Regions from separate parts of the Homo sapiens genome. Here region 1 is linked to region 2. Evidence: promoter capture Hi-C in 16 types of primary human blood cells and fetal thymus (Javierre and others, 2016). All regions are on one chromosome and are shown on one strand. The core of a region is centred on a gene start or on the middle of the fragment in contact, and the rest is flanking DNA. Distances in the headings are between cores, read along the strand shown. Region 1 holds the start of H2AJ (H2A.J histone). Region 2 holds the start of CLEC2B (C-type lectin domain family 2 member B).

Region 1 (4,926 bases), core at 626-3,125, 4.9 Mb before region 2:
ACAGCTCTACTCCTATCACTTTGTACAGAGCCTGGCATAGACAGCTGTTCAATAAATACTGGGGACAAAATAAAGTCCATGTGGGAAAATGGGCCAGCCGCTACCAAGGATGAAGACATACAATATATACATATATTTTTGGGGAAGACTTCAATTCCGACTCACAGGAAAGATGAATCCAAAGATGTGAAATCTGTACTGGGATCTTTTTTGTGGGGTCTGTGAGCCAGGATGAAATTTGCTGAGGATGAAATAAATAGGAGTGTCAATTAAGGGCAGAAGATGATTACTAGTGTTAACTTTTCAATGTGGATTCCTGGTCTGAAATGTGTTTCCCCCTGCACTTACATATTTGGTCCTATCTTTCCTTACATGTTTATTAAAGCAATATTGTGCCATTAGGCAATGCAACTCCCAAAGACATTACTGGAATGAGGTCATTGCTTCAGGCTAGTGGGAGAATATAAGAGAGTTCAAACAGGTTATTTGTTGGGTAAGAACCCCTAAAAGCAAGAGGTTTTTGTTTTGTTTGAAAGCAAAGTCAAACCGATTCTCAAAGTGAATATGATATGATGAAGACAGGATCATTATGAAGCTAGAAACTTGACAACATCACTTTAAAAGCTCAAGCATATGTAACCCACGACTAAAGGCGCTGCAATGTTATGCAATATGACTGTCAGGGGAACGAATTTCCAACCTCATGACTCACTTATTGAACGTTTCCTTCATTAAAAAAAAAATATGAACATAAAAGTGCTATATAAAGATATCTGATATCCAAAGCATGAAAGCACAGCAGCTACTAGGCTAGGAAGAATCTCAAGTTGACATCGTGCCATCAGAGCCACCCTTCCAAGACGGAAAGTTACTCCACTTTTTGAAAAATATGGCCGCAGACACTTCCTGCCCCGAGCTCAGCTCGATCCGACGGTATCTTCCCAGAACTTGGTCCTGAGTGCTCACAAACTGGCAGGAGAGCGAAGGCTCTGTGAAAGGGAAGTAAAAATAATTCCGAAGGAGGCCTCACCGCACCGACTCTGCCTCCCCTTTGCCCTACTGACAGCGAGGTGGCTTCCACCCTGCCCACCTCCAGGCCACCCTCCCCTGACGCCTCGAGGGTGACCTGCGGACTAAAGCCGTCCAGAGTGGCTCAAGCCCACCCACCAGTGCCTGCTCCAGGGGTTTCCCGGTCGCCCCCCTCCCCTGGGGCCATCCGACATGTCCCCGCGACTACACAGCTCTCTCGACCAAACGATTTTCACCAACTTTATTGGCTCCCGCCGGGACCCTCGCCGCCCACCTCCCCGCTAGATGTCACCGGCCCTCCATGACATCCAGCACATTCAAAAGCATTGCGGGACGACCATGAAAAGGGCCTTTGCTGGGGGAGCCAGCTCCCTGAGGGCGGCGTCAGGGTCATTTGCTCTTCGTCTTCTGACTCTCCGTCTTCTTGGGCAGCAGCACGGCCTGGATGTTGGGCAGGACGCCGCCCTGAGCGATGGTCACTTTGCCCAGCAGCTTGTTTAACTCCTCGTCGTTGCGGATGGCGAGCTGCAGGTGGCGGGGAATTATCCTGGTCTTCTTGTTGTCACGCGCGGCGTTGCCAGCCAGCTCCAGGATCTCCGCCGTAAGGTACTCCAACACCGCCGCCAGGTACACCGGCGCCCCGGCGCCCACTCGCTCCGCGTAGTTCCCTTTGCGCAGCAGTCTGTGCACTCGGCCCACCGGGAACTGCAGGCCCGCGCGGGAGGAGCGGGATTTGGCCTTTGCTCGCACTTTGCCGCCCTGTTTCCCGCGACCGGACATGATCACCTCTCGCCTACAACTCCAGAGACGGAGACAAACCGCTCTCGGCGTCCGGTACCGGAATGCAACGTACCGCACCCGAACTGCCTCTACAAACTCTTTACGGCCGCGCGGCAGCCCCTTTCCATTGGCTCTGGTGACCAATGACAGGCAGGCTCCGCTCCCAACTAGCGCTCTGGAAGAGAGACCGCCTCCTCCAGCTCTCTCCAATCAATAGAGCAATCTCCGAATCCTCATTTACATAGCCGCTCACATAAATAACGAGGCCAGCCGGCTCAGTCTTTGGGGACCCAGATGAATTTAGCGGTTACGGGTTTTCCACGACCACGCTCGCTTCCAAGCACATAAACTCGTAGGAAATAAGAAAACATGGTTGGAAACAGAAAACAATCCAGAAGAAGAGCTACAGGGGTTGTCCGTAGACGTTGCTATGCTAAGTGGATGTTCTCATATAATACACCGTACTACTCAGGTAGGTTTCTGTCTCCGCAGCCCGTGCTGCTTAGGCGAAACAACAGCCTGTCCGCGGAATTCTGCCTGCCCAGGACAGGGTCCGTGGACTGTTTCTTATACAAGCGCCTTGCCTCCAGCTAGCTACCCAACAGTGTAGAGACCACCCTGGTCTCCCCGCAGGGTCCTGCGGCTCACAGCCAGCCAATCGTTCACTTTTGAGTCTGAAGCTAGAGTGATGACCAGACGTGAATGCTTCCTGTGCTGACGGGAGGAACAAGCTCGCCTAGCCAAAATATCTTTTGTCTTTGAGGCTATGGGCCTGCAAAGAGCCACTAGGTTTTATTGGAGAGGCCAAAGTCTTGGCCTTGGCTTGCTCCCCGCAAGCCAGGGCGCCACAGATCAGCGGATCGGGTCCTCTGCGAAGACGTGGAGGTCCCCCGGGTCTCTTTGTAAATGAGTCCAGAGACTAAAGTCAGAATGGCAGCTTATTCTTATATACCTGAATTGTGGACCCATGCTTTTTGAAACAAAAAGAGTGTTTCAAGTGTTTTGTTTTAATTAAAAATTACTTTCTCCTAATTCATCGAGGTCATTTCATTTTTACCTGAACATTTTCAGTAACACAGTTAACACCGATACGTGATGTAATGTTGAACGCTTGCTTTTTAAAATAAACATTTTATGTGGATTCATTTACATTTAAAGTAAAGCAAATTTACCTTCTCACTATCCGAATAAAGATTTGACTTCATTGAAATAACATTTTCAAATATTTATGTATATGTCATTACTGCCTAGAACAATGATGAACCCATACTGGGGACTCAATAAATGTCTTCAGAGCTATTGTCATGGTTTAGGCGGTCTTTCCGGAGCCAGTCTGCCTCAGCCTAAATCCTGGCTTTACCACTGAGCAGTGACCTTTGATAAGTTATTTGACTCCTCTACCTGTATCAAAGTGTTTTGAAAATTAAATACGTTAGTAAGCATCCAATAACTCTTAGATATACCAAATAAATGGGCATACAAATCTCTGATGCAGTTTTTAACGAGATGTTCCTGGAATGAGTTCTGTAAACTAGCTTAAATTTTTGCCTGTATCTTGGGGAATTTTCAAGAGTTTTTAAAAGTATTACTATTTTAGACACGATTTTTTTTCTTTTATTCCAATAAGCAAGAGATTTCTAATTTGAAAATGTTCTAGTCTTGATTTCTTAGAAAGCTTAACTATAAGTAAGTCAACCGATTTTACCATTACAATAATTTTTTTTTTTTTTTTTTGAGACGGAGTCTCGCTCTGTCGCCCAGGCTGGAGTGCAGTGGCGCGATCTCGGCTCACTGCAAGCTCCGTCTCCCGGGTTCACGCCATTCTCCTGCCTCAGCCTCCCGAGTAGCTGGGACTACAGGCGCCCGCCACCACGCCCGGCTAATTTTTATGTATTTTTAGTAGAGATGGGGTTTCACCATGTTAGTCAGGATGGTCTCGATCTCCTGACCTCGTAATCCGCCCTCCTCGGCCTCCCAGAGCGCTGGGATTACAGGCGTGAGCCACCGCGCCCGGCCCCATTACAATAATTCTTATCTCTTCAAGATCTGATAGACTTTTCCTCTTCCCTCTGAGTCAAATATTAAAATCATGAGTGAAGTTCGACCATTCAGGACTTTTTCCAGCCATTCAAGACAGTGTTCCAACTCTTTTATCTTTAACAAAAAGTAAAAGAAAAATAAATACCTTTTGGGTTATGAAGATGGGCATGGATTGAAACAAATGTAAACTATAGGCATTTATAAATATAACAAAATTTTACCATAAAGTCTTCCTGCTGTAAAGGCTTATCTTCAAGACCAGGGACAAAGAAGCCCCACTTACTAAAATTCATTGCTCAGAATCCTAATTAACTACCTGGGAAAGACTTATGACTCATCCTCTAAATAACAGCTGCTTTTTAACACAGTAAAACCTTTAGAGAAGACAGGGTCCTGACACCTTTGAAGAGCGGTGACACCTTACAGAAACTTTCGTTTTTGTTCAGGGATTCTCTTGAGAAAGGAAGGGATTCAGAACCTCCTGAGGGGATTTGCAGTAGAAATCATTATTCCAAGTCATGATTGTGGCATCCATTGTTTTACAAGAACTTTGAATTTTTAAGTGGAAAATGTGAGATGAGAACCTGAGATTTGAATGACATAAGACATTGACAATATTTCAACTAAATAACCACAGGAAGTTACTTGGTTGAAAAGCACACAGGCTCTTGCAGGGCAGGAAAACCTGCAAATTGCGCAGAAGCAGCTGAAAGGGGAATGGCGGGGGTCGGGGGGAGGTGGGGGTGGAGTGTAGGTGGGGGACGGGAAGCTGCACTTTCTTTTTTCAATTGAAAGAATTTTAATTATCTGCAGGGCCGTAAAAGAGAAAAAAGTCCTCTCCCCCTACTATGTCTTCAGAAGACCCACGTGTGAAAAATTTTAAATTTTAAGTAATTGCTTTGAAATCTCGGATGTAAAGCTTTTCAGGTTTTTATAGAGTTTCATAGTAAGTCAGGAATTCCGTTTGAAAAAACAGAAGGAGGGAGGGACAGAACAAGGAACGTGCATAGGATCTGGCCTACTTTTATTTAAGCGCTGAGAAAAGGCAATATAAATTCTTTTAGCTCATACTGTTTT
Region 2 (5,001 bases), core at 2,502-5,001:
ATTGTTTGGAAAAGGTATAACTGCCCTGCTGATGCTGTACAGGCGCTCTTGGGCTTGCCTTGGCTCAGCATGGCGTGGCATGGCATGACATGGCTCGCACTGGTGCCCAGAAAGAGAGTAGCACTATTGACCCTTGTAAGGGAGAGCCAGTCGCCTTGAAGGCAGGCAGAGGGGAACCAGGAACGAGCTTGTGCCCAGAGGGAAAGAGTTAAGCTGCTAATCCTGACAGAGCTGGCCTTGCAGGCCAGGGCGTGCTGCTGCAGGCGTGGCGGCGGCAGGAGTCCCAGAGCCAGAGCAGACAGCGGAGATAAAGGCAGACAGTGTGAGAGAGTCGCTGTTGGTAAATAAAACTACATTTCACCTGCTTAGGGCCCCCAAGTGTTCTTTCAGCTATCGCCCATCCACCCACTCCCCTCAGACCTCAGCATGGGCTGGAACCTAACCTGGGTCATGACATTTGGAGTCATTGTGGCCCTAATGCCAAGCTAATAAAATAAATACTTAGAACTCATCAATTTGTGATGATTTTTAGAAGATTTTGCTATTATCCATGCATGAAATTATTAACATCTGTTACATCCGTATAGTGAAAATAATACGTAATGCTGTACTACTGCATATTTATTTCCAACTCTGTGTGTTCAGTGATGTCACCTGGGTACCTTGAAATCAGCAATGGTGGGAATAATTACATCACGGAAATCAGCTGGTGTTACAAACCAGAGCTTGTTATGTGTGTGTTTTTCTCTGTTCCACCAGTTGTTAAAGGACAGCACAGAAGTGGAAGCACCCTTTTTGGCTCTCTATATTACTTCTGTGAACATTGAGCTCTATCTGACATTGCTATGGCTCTATATGTCAGTAATCCTGGCTGCTATTGCAATTTGACCCTCATTACTATAATTGGCCCCAGCTTGTTTCAGAGTGGCACTCTGACACTTGGCGTTTCCTACTTCAAACCCTGTCCCAATACTCTCTCTGAATTCAGTTCTGTGGGAACATCTCCCACTGTAATCTTTGGCATGTAGAGAAGAACTATGCTAAGCTTCTCAGTGATGTTTATGTAGGACTTAAGTTCTTCCACCAGCGCCTTCCTTACTGCTTTGGTAAATAAGGTGCCCATTATATCATCCCATAGAACATAGTCAGTTGGTGGGTTTCCTGTCCTTATCTAGTTTATCCACTGTAGCATGCCCACTTCTCTAAGCATTTTTATCTTTTCTTCAGCTACCTGCCATGGGAATTCTGGAATGTTACTCTACTCAGCGTGAGCCATTGCTTTCTCCAATCTTCTTGGAGTTATTTCAGCAGTATGTCAGCACTGTTCACAGTATTTTTCCAAGTTATTAAATTCTGTATTGCAACTGAATGCCCTAATGTTGATAAAATCTCCCTTATCCAGCTTTATGTTTCTCTCATGATCTAGCACCCTCAGAATCCAATCCCATTGTGTACACTCCAAGCTGTTGTTATTATATATTGGTTAGGTCCAAATTCATTCTGAGTATAGCCCTTTCTCTCCCTTATAAGCTTAGCACATAACCTTAGTTATTGGCCTTATGACCAATAACTAAGAAAGGCAAGTAAGGGAGGGATTCCTGTAAGGAGGGTGTGAAGGGCACAATATTTTCTTTAAGGAAAAAGGCATGACCTCGACAAGGGAGAACATGTAACTTTGTTAGGATTAGAGAGTCCAACGTTTAGAAGCTTCTAGATTTTTAAAATTTTTGAGAAAAAAAATTGTGAAAAGTCACTATACAAATGATGGAAAGTATTTTTAATACATTTATCTAAAAATGGAATTTTTCTATATTATGTTGCAACCCATTTTACTTATTTATATACACATTTTTATGTGTATGTTTCTCTACATATATATTTACATATATATAAAATCTTAAAAATCACCATAAGGAAACAAATAAATCCATAAAAATGGGAAAAATATTTAAATAGGTCATTGAAAAAAGATATATGAGTTACCAATACGCACGTGAGTAAATGCTCAATATAACATCAGAGATGTACAAATTAAAATCACATTTAGATTCTACTACACGCCTACTAGAATGGTTAAATTGAAAAAGATTGGGCATATCTAATATTGCTATTTATGTGGAGCAAATAGAACCATCCAATATTCATGTTGGGAATGGCACAACTTTTTGGAAAAAAATACATTTATAAAATAAAACATACATTTTCTATGTAACCTAGCAGTTTCACATCCAGGTATTTCTTCAAAAGATTAAAAAACGTGTCAATAGAAAAACTTTTGCATAAATGTTTATTTTGACCTTATGATATCCAAGAAGTGGAAAAAGCTCAATGTCATAATGGATACATTTTATTATAAAATAGATAAAAATATTTTATGTCTGTACAATGAAATACTACTCAGTAATAAAAAGAAATTAACTGCTGATCTGTGCAAAAACATGGATAAAACTCAAAAACATTATGCTCAGTGAAAGACATCAGACTTACAAGAATTGCCAACTGTATCATTCTGCTTAACAGGAATTTCTAAAACCAGCAAAGCTCATGTTTATTGACAGTAAGTTGGCTGCTGCCTGGCTTCAGGGGTGAGGATGAACTGCAAAGCAACAGCGGGGAACATTTCCCTGTGTTGAAAATGTTTTATATCTTAACTGTTGTATCTTGACTGTTTTCCTTTTTGGAACAAAACTAAATTTCACTCAACCATACTTGAGTAATCTCTATATTTTTCTATACATGCTTTTCTAATAGTTCTTTGGATACAATCTTTTGTTAACAACAAAGGTAGAATATATTCATTTCCTCATGAATTTTCTGTCTTTTTTTTCTGTCCAAAAATGAAAAGAGCAATTTTGTTATCTGTCCTTTCCTTCTGCCCAGAAATGATTAAACCTGTATTTCTTATTCTCTTCATATTTTCTTTGTTTTAATTCCTTTGTACTACAGTTTCTTCTCTATTCTCATTTGCTTTTCCTCTTCAAGTTTCTCTCTCAGAACAAATGCAGTGTTAATCCCGAAGCCGCTTGCGGGACACTGGCTTCTTCTCCTCAGTTTCCTCCCTAATATATTTGTTGAGGGGTAATACAAAATCACTGGGAAACTGATTAGAGCAGATTTGAAGACAAAATTGTGGCCTGGTAACTTAGCAAAAGCATAATGGTGTCATCTTGTATGCTGATGATAACGTTCTGGGCACTTTGTTACTTTCGTTTTCTTTTTTCCCTCTGTGTGTCTTTGTGTGTGTTTGTGTGTGTGCTCACACCCACACGTGTGACTTTGCACGCATTTGTCTTTGAGAGAGAGATAATAGTTTTTGTTTTTCTTTCAGTAGCCAAAGTTTAAACCATTGCTTTTTCTTTGATTCTATCGCTTTTAAGGTGATCTTTCTTAACACAGGATAAGAAAGCAGTAATGTCCTAAAGAATGCTGTTGAATTAATTAGTATCAGCCTCTCCTACAGTTCTGGAAGGATACGTGGTTAAGTACCACTCCTGGATGAATCAGAAAAACAGCCACTTGAGCAATTTCGTGTTCTGTGGTTCAGATGAGAATCCCAGTTGAGAAAGTAAGAAAATATGTGTTTATTCTTCAGCTTTAAATTGTTATATCACAAACTTCCTTCCTCCTTGGCAAGCTTTCTTTTTTGACGAGAAGAAAATTGTAATAAACAACAGTATGACTAATAGATAGTCACATGGTTACTTCCAGTTTGCAAAATGCTATTTATACTTTGAGTTACTCTTCAAAAGTGGTATACCTCTAGTTTGGAGCTGTGCTGTAAAAACAAGAGTAACATTTTTATATTAAAGTTAAATAAAGTTACAACTTTGAAGAGAGTTTCTGCAAGACATGACACAAAGCTGCTAGCAGAAAATCAAAACGCTGATTAAAAGAAGCACGGTAAGAACATTTTTGTTTGTTTAGAATGACCGTTATTTATTGAAATTGTGATGCAGAATGTTAAAGCCTTCGAGAAAAGAATTAAATTTTGTGGTTTCTTTTGTGAAACTAGAAAATTCCTTCTTATAACAAGATTGAGATTTGCATATGACTGTTTTGTCCTAATAAATTCAGACTTACTTTACATTATTTGAATTACAATGGAGAAGGATTAACCATGACTTAAAACTGCTCAAGATTTAGTTTCATTTTTACTAAGTATTTTATAAAACAAATACTTGAGAAGATGATAGATATGATCCAGATACTCATACAGTTCTCAGAATGCATACATAATATGATAAATTTAGCCAATAGTTCTAATATTTTTAAAGATTGCTTTATTGGATGGTGTAAAGATACTCCGGGCTTTAGGAGTACTTAACGGAAAGAATATATCCCTTTCCTACTCTTACTAAGGAATTGCTAGTACTCCGATATCCATGGAGATGTCTTTACCAACCCTAAGAAGGATAAGGAAAGAAAATGTTCTAAAAAATACACTATGAAACAACCTGGTAACATTGGATTTATTAAATAGCAAGTTCGGAATATATAAGATCCAAGCTACATCTTTGAGATTTCAACAGGGTTTATTTATGTCAAAATATTTGAAAGAGAAAAGGCTGAAACTAAATGCATTCAATACAACGATCTATGATTTAGAGATTTAGGGACTGTGATGAGCTTTAAGCATTTCCCGTTTAACTAAATGTCAACCTACCAGCGTATGCTACGGTCAAAAAAATTATTGCTGTGGTACAATAGAATGCACACTTTATCCTTCCTCCCGTATTTTAACCGGTTTTATAATTCTGCCTAAAGTTAGATAAAACAGGTTTGCGGGGAATGAGATCAATATTTGATGGTAGCATAAAATATCATTTTAATCAAAAGTTTTAAGAAGGCCTTCCAGCCACTAGTAAAACCAGTGTTATTTTCTACTTTCAATCAATTGTATAAATTTATACATTTGTATATAAATACATTATATAATACAATATTATATATCATATTACATATGAATATATTTTAAAAGTTACTGAATAATATATTCAGTAT

Evidence for each region. The method cuts DNA at HindIII sites, captures the fragments that hold promoters and counts their contacts. A CHiCAGO score of 5 or more calls a contact.
Region 1: a contact is called between the fragment with the promoter of H2AJ here and the fragment with the promoter of CLEC2B in region 2, in 1 of 17 cell types (non-activated CD4 T cells). The highest score is 5.2, in non-activated CD4 T cells.

What each region holds. Positions count from the first base shown.
Region 1 is chr12:14,771,354-14,776,279 of GRCh38, reverse strand. It overlaps H2AJ (H2A.J histone), which reads right to left and starts at 1,875. Exons shown (of 1, transcript NM_177925.5): 1 at 1,256-1,875. The coding sequence starts at 1,809. The coding sequence ends at 1,420. RefSeq lists enhancers at 765-914, 621-1,537, 1,425-1,584, 1,595-1,924, 2,115-2,324 and 1 more. The HindIII fragment of the contact is 5,193 bases long and covers 1-3,486 here.
Region 2 is chr12:9,868,104-9,873,104 of GRCh38, reverse strand. CLEC2B (C-type lectin domain family 2 member B) reads left to right here and starts at 3,751. Exons shown (of 5, transcript NM_005127.3): 1 at 3,751-3,900. The HindIII fragment of the contact is 5,556 bases long and covers 3,637-5,001 here.